2 separate regions of the Homo sapiens genome follow, and region 1 is linked to region 2. The links are contacts of gene promoters, found by promoter capture Hi-C in human tissues and cell types (Jung and others, 2019). All regions are on one chromosome and are shown on one strand. Each heading gives the region's core, a stretch centred on a gene start or on the middle of the fragment in contact. The rest is flanking DNA. Distances are from core to core; before and after follow the strand shown. Region 1 overlaps DGAT2 (diacylglycerol O-acyltransferase 2). Region 2 holds the start of SERPINH1 (serpin family H member 1).

Region 1 (5,560 bases), core at 15-2,514, 210 kb after region 2:
AGAAGGCAGCGGAGAGGACCCTGCATGTCCTCCAAGGTAGAACTGAGGTCCTCAGTGAATCGCGCAGAGTTGAAATCAACCCCCGCCCCGCACCCCCCGCAGCTTTTCCCAAGCGAGGAATAGCAACTCTTCCAACCCCCACCTCCCTTACCTAGAGCTGGAGAAACTGAAGTGGGAGGAAGCATGCCTAAGTTTTCCTTAGCTGATGCCTTGACCCCTGGATTCAAGTACAAATCCGGTAGACCCTGGGAAGTCATCACAGCTGTCCTGGTCTGCGTGTGTGTCTTGCATGAAGCCCCTCTCCCTCTTTCTAAGTCTGTATTCTGTTTGCTGAGCCTCTCTGACATGGATTTTTCTTTAGTAACTAACGGTCGCCTACACCGCCCACCTTTGTTACAAAAATAAAGCTTGCTAATTATGGAATTTTTGAAAATATAGACAAATGAAAAAAATTTCTGGTAAATCGACTATCCAAAGATACCTTCCTATTAGCATTTTAGTATATCTCTTGATCATTTTCTTTATACACATTGCATAGATACAATTGAGGACATGCTGTAGATATAGTTATGAATCTTGTTTTCTCCCCCTTAATGTAACATCGAGGTTTCCCTTCTGTTAATCAGAATCACTTACAATGTCCTAGTGGTTGCAATAACCCACCCTGCAGCTGTACCACACTTTAACTGTGACCTAGGCATTGGCATTGCTTCTTGTGTGATTATCGCTGTGGTTATCTGCCCCTCTTGGTGTGGGTGCTGCTCGTAGCCCTTGAAGAGGAACCCAGCTGCTGCCCTGTCTCGGGGGCGAGCAGCTTGAGCTGCCCCATGTATCCAGCCAGTAGCCTCTGACAGCCCCTTCTCTCACTTGAGTCCTTTTCTGTTCCCTGTGTCCTTTGATGTCCTTAGGGACATCAATGGATGAATGGACTTGCCCTTGTTCATGCTGTTAAAAATGTTTTTGCACTGGGCAGTGGGATAGGGATGTTCTCTGTGGTAGTGCTTCCTGGAGACCCCATTCCGTCGGCTCTGCCATCCACAGGCTGGGAGCTGTGTCTTCCAGGAGGCAGTGACCCTGGCTGTCATGTTTTTGACTTAGAGTTTGTTCCTTAGGAGAACTTGTACTCTAGCGAATGGTTTTAACCAAGCCACTTAATATCATGTCAGGAACATTTCCCCATGTTGTTATCAGATCTTGAAAACTTTTTTTTTTTTAAACTGGGTGCAAGGATTTACATCATGGAATGTAGGAAGGGCTGGTATGAAATGCAAACCAGTCAGTTCAGCTTTCTGGGATCTACTTTGGTGAAAGATTGGGTGGAGTAGGGGAGGGCACTGAAGCACATTTTGTTATCTGGGCATCTCCATTAGACCTGCCTTCTAGATCCTTGGTCCTTGAAGATACTCCCCAGTGGCCTAGTTTGCCTCTGTGGGTAAGGTCCCACTGTTGTGAGCTGGTGAACAGCCCGTCAGTGACAGTATTCAAGTAGAGACCATGGATTCTGTGAAGGGAAGTCCTGTGACGGGTGAGAGATTGAAATAGATACCTTGGCATCTGGTTTCTTGGCCAAAAAAAAAGGCCAGCTGTGGGAGTATGGGTAGGTGGGTGCATGCTGGGGGAAGCGGGAGTCTGTGTTGATATTTCCTAATCCTTGGAGGGCTGTCCTGTGCCAGACGTGGAGTTTGCAGAGTTCATCAGGACAGGAGGGATATATATCCTATTCTTTATCCTTGCCTTTGGATTGGGGGCTCTTCGTTCAGAAGAGCCCTCTGACACCTGCCTGTGTCCTCAGGGTTCAGCACAGGACCTAGCATGAGATGTTGGTGGTCCCAGTAAAATTTTGAGCTGATTTGTTGTGTGCGGCTCCAAAGAGTGAGGCCAGGAATAGGAGTGGGATGATGGGTGCAAGTTTTGATGTAGCAGAGGAGTCCTTTCTGACAGCTGTTGAGGACTGCAACAGGCTGGGGTGGGTGAGGATGGAGTTCCACATCACTGTGGATCTGCTTGAAACTAAGTGGCTAGATTGTTGGGGGTAACTGGGAACTGAGGGTTGACAGTCACCTAACCTAGTCCTAAGTCAGAATGAGAACATTACTCTCATGCTTCCCTCTCCAATTCCGTGTGGCTTCCCCCCTCACCTACATCACTTCCCCAGCTGAATAGAGGCCACTTTGGGGCTGCGTCACCAAGGGCTCATCTAGGCTGAGAAAGGAGGGCCAAGAGTAATGTTGTATTAACAGGCTCAGTGACTCAATGGTCAGTGTTGAAATCCTGCCCCACCTCCACCCTCCTGCCCTCAAATTCAACAGCAAGTACTTGAGTTGTAAAAATTAGTGCTGGATCGGGCCCAACCCTCATGTTACAGATGGGATCACTGGAGTCTCCAGAAAGAAGGGACTTTCCCAGGGTTATCAAAGCCAGGCTAGAACTCAGATCCATCTCCCAGTCTGTGGCCTGACTCCTTAAGCCAAGAGAAGGGTTGCAAGGCCGTGAAGGGCTGAGTGCAGGGCTCTGTGCATTGTAGGTGCTCAGTGGTTTGCTGAATGAGTGAAGGTTGTCTCCATGGTGCGGGTGGCAGCTCATCCCTTCTCAAACTTTTTGAGGAAGCTCCCCAAGCCTGCCCTAGTGGATTAGAGCACTAAGATCCCCCAGAGCTTTGGCTGCCAGGTGAATGCCAGTTGCCCCCTACCCACACTCAGTCACACTTCAGACTTTCCAAACTCTTCCTCCTGGCCTATGAAGTAAGCCCCAGGTGAACAGCCTCCACTGCCATCACGACTTCCTCTCCTAGTATGTCACCCACCATGCTGCAGACGCATGGTGGTCTTCCTGTTCCTGCAGCATTACTCCCAATTCAGTCTTACCTCAGCGCCTTTGCATATGCTGCCTGTCTGCCCAGGTCTTCGCATGGCTGGCTTTACAACAGTCAATCTCCTCTCAGAGGTCTTCCCTGGCCACCCTATCTAGAGAGCCACTTCCAATCTAGAGAGCCACTTCCAATCACCACATCTTCTTTTATTTTTATAGCCTTTATCACTACCTAAATTTTCATGCGTGCTTATCTGTTTAAGCAATTGTCTCCCCAGTAAGAATATCAGTCCCTTTGCCGGCCGCGTGCCATGGCTTTCGCCTGTAATCCCAGCACTTTGGGAGGCCAAAGTGGGAGGATCACTTGAGGTCAGGAGTTCGAGACCAGCCTGGCTGACATGGTAAAACCCCTGTCTCTACTAAAAATAAAAAAATTTAGCCAGGTGTGGTGGTGTGTGCCTGTAATCCCAGCTACTTGGGAGGCTGAGGCAGGATAGTCGCTTGAACCCAGGAGGAGGAGGTTACAGTGAGCCAAGGTTGTGCTACTGCACTCCAGCGTGGGTAACAGAGCGAGACTCCATCTCAAAACAAAACAAAAAGAACAAACAGAAAAAGAATATGAGTCCCTTGGAAACAGGAACCTTGTCTGTCTTTCTCAGTGCTGTGACATCTAGCACAGTGCCTGGCACTGGTAATAGGTACTTAGTAAGTATCTGTTAAACGAAGGAATCATTAGTGGGACTGCCCCATTCCTCTTGGAGGAAGCCCTGCTTTTAGCTTCAGTGTGATTCCTCGAGCCTTCCTTGGGCCTCCTCTGTCCCTGTAACCACCTGTGCTAGGGACTGGGTGCTGGGGTTGTAGCTGTTCCCTGCCCTGGAGGTACCCACAGTCTGGCAAGGAGCTGGCTCCAAGGCTGAGTGGCAAGTGGGCAGAGCCAGTCTCAATGGTCACCCTTACTGCTTCCCAGGGCTTATTAGAAGCCCGAGAGCTGGGGTTCCAGGCCTGACATTTTTCTGGGATGTGGCTGGGGGCTTCACTTCCTCTCTGGGGATCTCACTCCTTCTATCTGGAAAATAGGGTCAGAATTCTCAGATTCTCAAGGATGGAGGGTTTGAGTTAACCTGAGTGTGAGTGTTTGTGAACTTGTGACATTCATGTTAGTCCTTGTCATTTGTCCTGTGTTACACATTCAGCAGGCCCCCAACACTGTAGAGAGTGGCAGACCCTGCTCTAGGGCATCCAGGAAGGCTTCACTGAGGAAGGGACTTGGGGTGTGGACCCTTCATTTTATTGATTGAGCACCTTCTGTGTGTCAGCTGCAGTCCCTGCGTTTGAGGAAGTGAGACCAGGGGGATGTACACAAGATGACTGTGCAGAGTGATCTGAGCAATGACAGGAAAGACTGCCAAGAGGTGAGACCGGGGAGCTTGATCACCCTGAGGTCAGGGAAGTCTTCCTGGAAGAGGTGACATTCAGTCCGGATCTGGAAAGATGAATAGACATCAGCAAGACAGGCAAGAACATTCAGGTACAGGAAATAGCATAAATAGAGGCATGAGATTTGGATGGGAGAGGCAGACTGACTGCAGGGCCTCTGAGTGACCAACTGAGGCTGAGGTCTTGGTGTACTGAGAGCCAGAGACAAGAGAGACAGAGAGGATGCTGGATCCAGGCCTGTGGTGGCTCACCTGTGTCTGCAGCAGGAGGAAGACTTGAGAGCTCATGGGAAAGGAGCCTGGTGCAGTTAGTTTATTGGCCTCCAGCACTTTGAGGGCCTCCTGGTATGGAGCTGCTGGCTGATTTGAGGGCCTCATGGGCAGGGCCCAGGGGTAGGAGTCAGGCCTGGGCTCTGTCCAGCTCCTGCTTGGCCACCGAACTGCTCCGCAGCCTCAGCAAGCCACTACCCTTCCTTACCCTCAGTCTCCTCATCTATGAAATGAGCAAAAGTGTCATAAGAACCTGTGCAGATTATGGTGCAGATGCAGACAGGCTACACCCTGTGAACCTTTTGGGTAAATCAATAGAAATGGGAAACACAAACTCCTTTTCTTATTAGAGCAGAATTAGCCATTCTAAGCCCTGCCTCTGCTTCCCATGTGACCTTGGGTATAACACTGCCTCTTAGGGCCTCAGCCTTCTCATCTGCACAGTGAGGAGGACTGGTTGAGATGACCCCCTTGGCTTCCTTACATCCCTGCTGGAGAAATGCGATTCCATTCTTGTCCCTAACTGCTGTGGGACTCTTGAGGTCAGCCACCTCCTCATTCTTGTCCTCAGCTTCTCCTTGTGAAAATGGTGCACTCATCCACTTGGGGCCAAGGTAAGTGCCCCAGAAGAACCTGTCTCCCCATGCTTGCCCATATATTGTGATGGGGACGTATTTTGGAGATTCCTTGGTGACCTACTCGCAAGCTAGTAGTGTTGCCATGGCAGCCCCTTCCACTGCAGTAGCTACTTTTTGAATGTGCTTGGTCACAGTGGGTGGGGTGGGGGAAGTGGGCCCCTGGGGTCCTCAGCAATCATGTCCAGGGTCCTGGATGTAGATCCATGTTCGGTATCAGGAACATGGCATTCTAAGAGTCTCACTTCCTTGGCCTTACCTCTTGGAACTTTGTGAAAGTTCTACTTGATGAAAACGGAATACACAAAAACCCAGGTGTATGGAGTAGCCCGAGGATGGGCTTATATTCCCTTTCGGGAGATCTTCTGTGGATAAAAATTCATTTGTGGATTCTAGCAGAGCACAGGTGGC
Region 2 (5,710 bases), core at 3,211-5,710:
CTGGTCTTGCAGGCACTGGAGCTGGTTCCATGGGTTGCCAGAGGAAGCCTGAGAGAGGGAGGCTGGGAGAGGGGGCGGGGAACCTGATCCTGTGTATATGTCAATACCCAACAAAAACTTGTGTAGGGGGGTGGGGTGCATTTGGGTTACTGGAGTTACACAGACATGTGTGTACATGGATTGTGTGAAGGGGCTGCTCAAGTGCCGTGTGTGCACCATGTATGTGGGTGCACATACGCCTGTGTATATAGCGAGTCAGTGGGCTTGTGTCTCCTGGGTATTGTGCCAGGCATGTGGGTGAAGGCGCTGGAGTTCCTATGTGGCTTCGCTCAGCACCAGGATTGCAGACGGGTAGGGGCGGGCCTGCTCTGGGAGGAGGAGGGGAGGAATCATGTGCCCACCCACCCCCACATGGACCGGCTGCCCACCCTCCAACGTGGCAGCACGCAGGACAGCCCTTTTTGGATGGAAGGCCCCACGCTCCAAGAGAGAGAATCCAAGATTACAGAAATCGTGTTTTCCTGACTCATGCCTTGGGCTGAGAGCACATTCTTGGCTCCTGGACAGCATCTCAAAGAAGAGCTGCCTATAGCAGCCCTGGCTCCCTGAGGGAGGGGGCCGACCCTGGACTGGCTGTCGGAGCTTTCTGGGCTCCAATTTTATACCAATGTAAAAAGAAGGGGATTAAACTTCCTTCCGATTAACGTTCTATAATTAAAAGTGAGACACTAATGACGGTGCCCAGCACAGGCCTGGCAGCGGCAAAATGGCCCATAAATGTCACTTCCTTCTCGTCCACTCCCTGCCTTCCCGTGGATATGGCATAAACAGACCTGATTCAAAACCCAGCTCTGACTCTGGCTTGTTGTGTGCCCTTAACCCTGTTGCTTAGTCTCCCTGATCCTCAGTTTCTTCATGCTGAAAATTGGAACATTCTTCCTTACCTGAAAGGAATAAATATGATAATAAATGTGAATGTGTTGCACACTTAAATGACATGCAAGTTTTTGTCCTAGGATTCTATGGGGTGAAGACTGAGTGAATCTAGCCACTGGGGCCAAAGAAAGCTGTTTCCACAGCACCTGGCAGAACTGGGCCTACATACCCCCCTGGGTCATTAGAGGGTACTGTGGGAGAAAGAGGGCTGGGAGTCCAGGGCTTAGGCTCCAGCCCAGCCCCACCTCTGATATGCTGTGTGACCTTGGGTAAATTCCTGCCCTCTCTGGGCTTCCGTTGTCCTCTCTGTATAGTGTGGATGCAGTTGGACTTGATGGTTTTCTACTTTCTGCTGTCCACACCTCTCGGGACCTAGGGATCTAGAGGATTTCCAGCCAGCCTCCACGTGCCAGGCACCAGGACCACTTCCTTCAGTGAAGCGAGGCACTGGAGGAGTCCAGAGACAAAATGCTTGAGAGTTTCTCTGCTTATCAGACTCTTCTCCCCCACCCCCTAAAAGAGTGCTTTTTCCGGAAAGCTCTGCCTGGAATGTGGGGGAAGGGCCACAGTCAGTCTGGGCTGGGCTCAGAGCTAAGAATATTGTGGCAAAGGCTCTTGACTTTTTTTTTTTTTGCTGATCTTGGAAATTTAAAGGAGCCGTTGCTTTCCCTTCTTCAGGGAGGCTGTGCTAGGGGCACAGCAGCCTCAGGCAGCCACTTCTCATCCCCTGGCCAGCCATGCTTACCCAGTGCCTCTTCCATACTGTCCCCTTGCTGGAGCTGGGGACTCACAGTGACAAGGAAAAGGCCCTGCCCTTCCAAAGTCTCCAGTGATGGTTCACTGACAATACAGGGTGATAACAGAGATAATGCAGCAGTGGGATAGGTCACAGAGGAGGCTTCTGACCCGGTGTGAGATTAGTGGGGGTCGGATGGGGGTTGGGCCTTCAGACCCAGCCCTCCTTAGGCCTCAGCTTTGCTGTCTGTAAGGGCAGGTCCTCTCTTCAGTGACCACTCATGATACTGGGTCTATTTAACAGCATGAGCTTTGGTTTATCCCTCAAAATGGGACAGTCACAGCACTCTCAGTCTCCCCCTCAGGTGTTGGTGAAGCCTAAAAGAGCTAAGAGATGTAAGAGAGTAGAGGAAGGGAGTCTCACTGGGATTGTGACATCTGAACCTGCTGAAAACCCAGGCGACCCTCTCTGTTTTGCCAGCATTGATGGGCACTCTTTGTTTCTGCTCTGCCCTGCCCTCAGCTCACTGACCAAGTCACAAGGAAGCCTGAGGGCCAATGTGGGGGTGGGAGTAGAGAGTGGGGTCTGGCCTGGGACCCGGGAGGTCTCCTTGGATAAACAAGAATTTATCTTTTTTTTTTGAGATGGAGTCTCGCTCTGTCACCCATGCTGGAGTGCAGTGGCATGATCTCGGCTCACTGCAAACTCCACCTCCCAGGTTCAAGAGATTCTCCCGCCTCAGCCTCCTGAGTAGCTGGGATTACAGGCACATGACACCACAGCTGGCTAATTTTCATATTTTTATTAGAGATGGGGTTTCACCATTTTGGCCACGCTGATCTTGAACTGCTGACCTCAGGTGATCCACCCACCTCGGCCTTCCAAAGTGCTGGGATTACAGGCATGAGCCACCGCGCCCAGCCTAGAATTTATCTTTAAAAGCAATATACAGTTGAGGCAGGAGGAAGCACATGAGAACCACGACAGCCACCCCAAAGAGATGGACACCATGCCAAGGCTGGAAGCTTTTGTTAATAATCAGACCTGTCCTAAAAAAGAATGCGGGGCTGCCTCTGAAGGAGGTAAGCTCTCTCTTCTTAGAGGTGCCTCGGTGCTTGCCTTTTTGGGATACTGAGAAGAGGGCTTCTGCCTGGGGCTGCAGACAGGAACCCCTGACCTCTGAGATGCCTTGCAGCTCAGAGTCTTTAATACATTTATTCCAGAATCCTTCGACTCTGAGATTTTAACATGTTAAGATTCCTTAGCTGGATTCAAAGACTCCTTGGGGGCTTTGAGTGGAAGTAATCTCTGATTCCTTGACCCTGAATCACAGAGTCTGAAGCTTTTGGGATCTGAGATTTCCCACAGTCCTTGTACTCAAAAGACTCTGAGCTGCAGAAGCCTACCCAGACAGAGAGGTTTGTCACCACCACCAGGCTTCCCCACAACCACTAACAGAGGGCAGGGACCCAGGTGATTGACTCATTTGCTGGGTACTGGGATTTTTTTGCTCCCCAGGATCCAGGCAAGCACCTAGAAGAAAGAAGATACTCAATGCATTCATTCATGACTGAATGAATGAAGAGTCCCTACCCTGTCCCTTCCTCTCCATACTGCGTCCATCCAATAGCTATCATTAAACTACTAAAGAGGACTTTTCGGAGGGTAGGGAGCCTCGGCTGATCAGAAATTGAGCCACTGTCGCCCAGATTATTTAGGGTTTCCTAAATAATCTGCCTCACTGAATCACTGAATTCCCTACTAACAGGTACATACCCCACAGATGGACATCGCACAGGGCAAGGACTTTGTTCAGCTCTCAGCTGTGTCCTCAGCACCTAGAACAGTAATGAATACCCTAGCTTAACTTGGAGGTCAAGGAGCTATCAGTTTGCGAGGGTGGGGTAGGAATTGACAGTGAGACCTGAGGCCTGTGGGAGGGGACCCAAAGAGGGAGGGGATGCAATAGGGAGGGGGCCAGGGGTGACAAGGATTGAGGAAGGGAGAGAGGGGGGAAAAAAAGCAAGGGATGCCTTAGAACCACATTTCACAGCCAAGGGAACAGAGGCCCAGAAAGGGAAAGTAACCTGCTTAGGGTCACACAGCACCTTGCTCAGTGGAGAGCCAGGTTTTCCTTCCTGTGCACTCCTCCAAGCCCAGCCAGACCACCTGAAGTTCCCCAGGCATCTCTGCCTCTATTACTCCACGACTTGAACTTTCCGGGTGCCGGGCAGGTACCGGGTCTGGTCTGCTCCCTCTCCCTCTGGCCATCGCTGAGGTTGAGGTTTTTTGAATGTACAAGTATGGAGAAGGGCACTGCCTTCAGAAGCCTGAACGTCTCCCCTGAGAGGGAGGGGGTGCACAGGACTCAATTGTTTCAGCTTGAAAATGGGGGAGAGCGGGGAGAAGGGGAGATGGCTCTGCTTGGGGCAGAGCCCCTGCGGGGAAAGGGGCGCCTGAAAGGACGTGCGATTCGGAGTGGGCTAGCTTATGCAGAGAGCCTGGGGGTGGGAGGAAGCTCGCACTCTGAAGGACACGCTGATCCCCGTGGGGACTCCCGGCGCCCCGCAGCCCGGGCCGCCGAGGGAGGCAGTAGGACCCAGGGGCCGGGAGGCGCCGGCAGAGGGAGGGGCCGGGGGCCGGGGAGGTTTTGAGGGAGGTCTTTGGCTTTTTTTGGCGGAGCTGGGGCGCCCTCCGGAAGCGTTTCCAACTTTCCAGAAGTTTCTCGGGACGGGCAGGAGGGGGTGGGGACTGCCATATATAGATCCCGGGAGCAGGGGAGCGGGCTAAGAGTAGAATCGTGTCGCGGCTCGAGAGCGAGAGTCACGTCCCGGCGCTAGCCCAGCCCGACCCAGGTGAGGGGCGGGAGACGCCTGCGTGCGTGCGGCCCGGGGGAGCGCCGAGCAATCTGGGGGTGCGCGAGGGAGTAAGAGGGGCGAGGGGACCCTGCGAAGCGTTGGGTGCCGAGCCAGAGCCTACAAATTGGAGTCCTCGGCACTTTGGGGGCCGCTGGAGGGTTTGGAATCGAGAGCCCAGGGCTAGCCAGTGATGGTGCCAGCTGAGGGCTAGGGCGGAGATCGGAGCCGGGTTGGGAGTCCGTGCACTCGGAGGACTGGGAAAAAGTGCAGGGACCCCTAAAAGGTGGTGGTGGCAGATACGAGACTAGGTGCTGTGTAAAGGGGGCTGGGGGCAGAGAGCAGAGCCTCTGCGGAAAGAAACAGAGGAGGAAGGAGATGGGTCTGGTGCCTCTTCCCGCAAGGGTAGGGAGGATAGGCCGGCCTCGCAGTTCCAGGTCACTTCCGTTCTGGGGTTGAGGCTCAGGGGCAGCGGTGATTGGTGGCCCAGCCTCCTCACAGGCTTGCTGAGGGAATTTGAGCTTCCGGTGGTGGGAAAGGAGGTGAAATCGTCTCGACTCCTGGGGTCCGTGTGCTCTGGTAGAAGTGGGCGACAGTGGCTCAATTTCTGATCAGCAGCTTGCAGCCTAGATGATGGCAGCCAAAGGAAAGACTTGGCCAGCGAGGCTCCCTACCACTCCGAAAAAAGAGAGTGGGGGTCAGCAGGGTCTGCTCTGCTCTGGGGATTAAGGGGCTGACTAGAAGGATTTGAGTCTTTCCTTCTGTCCACTGCCACAGGGTTCTTGGAGTAACTGCAGGGTTTAAACTGCAGGGTCTAACTTCCAGAGGCTGGGGTTCCCTGCCCCCCAGCTTAGAGACATTCCTGAGGTGGCTGAAGAGCAGGAAGGAGAATGAATGCACTTCCAGACTGGCCCAGAGTCTCAGCCCCTCCTCTTCCTTGTTTCCCGCTGGTCCCTCTGGGCTGTACGGCCCGGATGGAGGCCTGAGGAAAATGAGGGGGCTTTGGTTCTCCGGAATTCCGGCCGGGGCCACACCCTCCTGTCTTCAGATGGTTCATGTACCCATCCCCCCTTCCCGTCCTCTCCTTTGTCTCCTCTGTCACCGGGACTCCCAGCAGAGATTTTTTTTTTGTACTGGCTGTGTAACAGGACACCGCATGCAGCCCTCAGGAGGGGCTCTGTGC

What was found. Contacts are between HindIII fragments. The study calls those that stand out against the background at their distance.
Region 1: a fragment that was not itself captured here is called in contact with the fragment with the promoter of SERPINH1 in region 2 in 1 of the 25 tissues and cell types used here (IMR-90 fibroblasts).

The regions. Positions count from the first base shown.
Region 1 is chr11:75,769,598-75,775,157 of GRCh38, forward strand. The region is part of intron 1 of DGAT2 (diacylglycerol O-acyltransferase 2); the gene reads left to right. Among named protein-coding and RNA genes, the nearest start is that of DGAT2, 3.6 kb to the left of the region's middle. RefSeq lists enhancers at 3,739-3,888, 4,029-4,258. The HindIII fragment of the contact is 5,867 bases long and covers 1-4,198 here.
Region 2 is chr11:75,557,793-75,563,502 of GRCh38, forward strand. SERPINH1 (serpin family H member 1) reads left to right here and starts at 4,461. Exons shown (of 5, transcript NM_001235.5): 1 at 4,461-4,527. RefSeq lists cis regulatory regions at 452-682, 1,155-2,005, enhancers at 1,018-1,559, 4,141-4,680, 4,681-5,221, 5,222-5,710 and silencers at 4,197-4,456, 4,467-4,516. The HindIII fragment of the contact is 16,066 bases long and covers 2,856-5,710 here.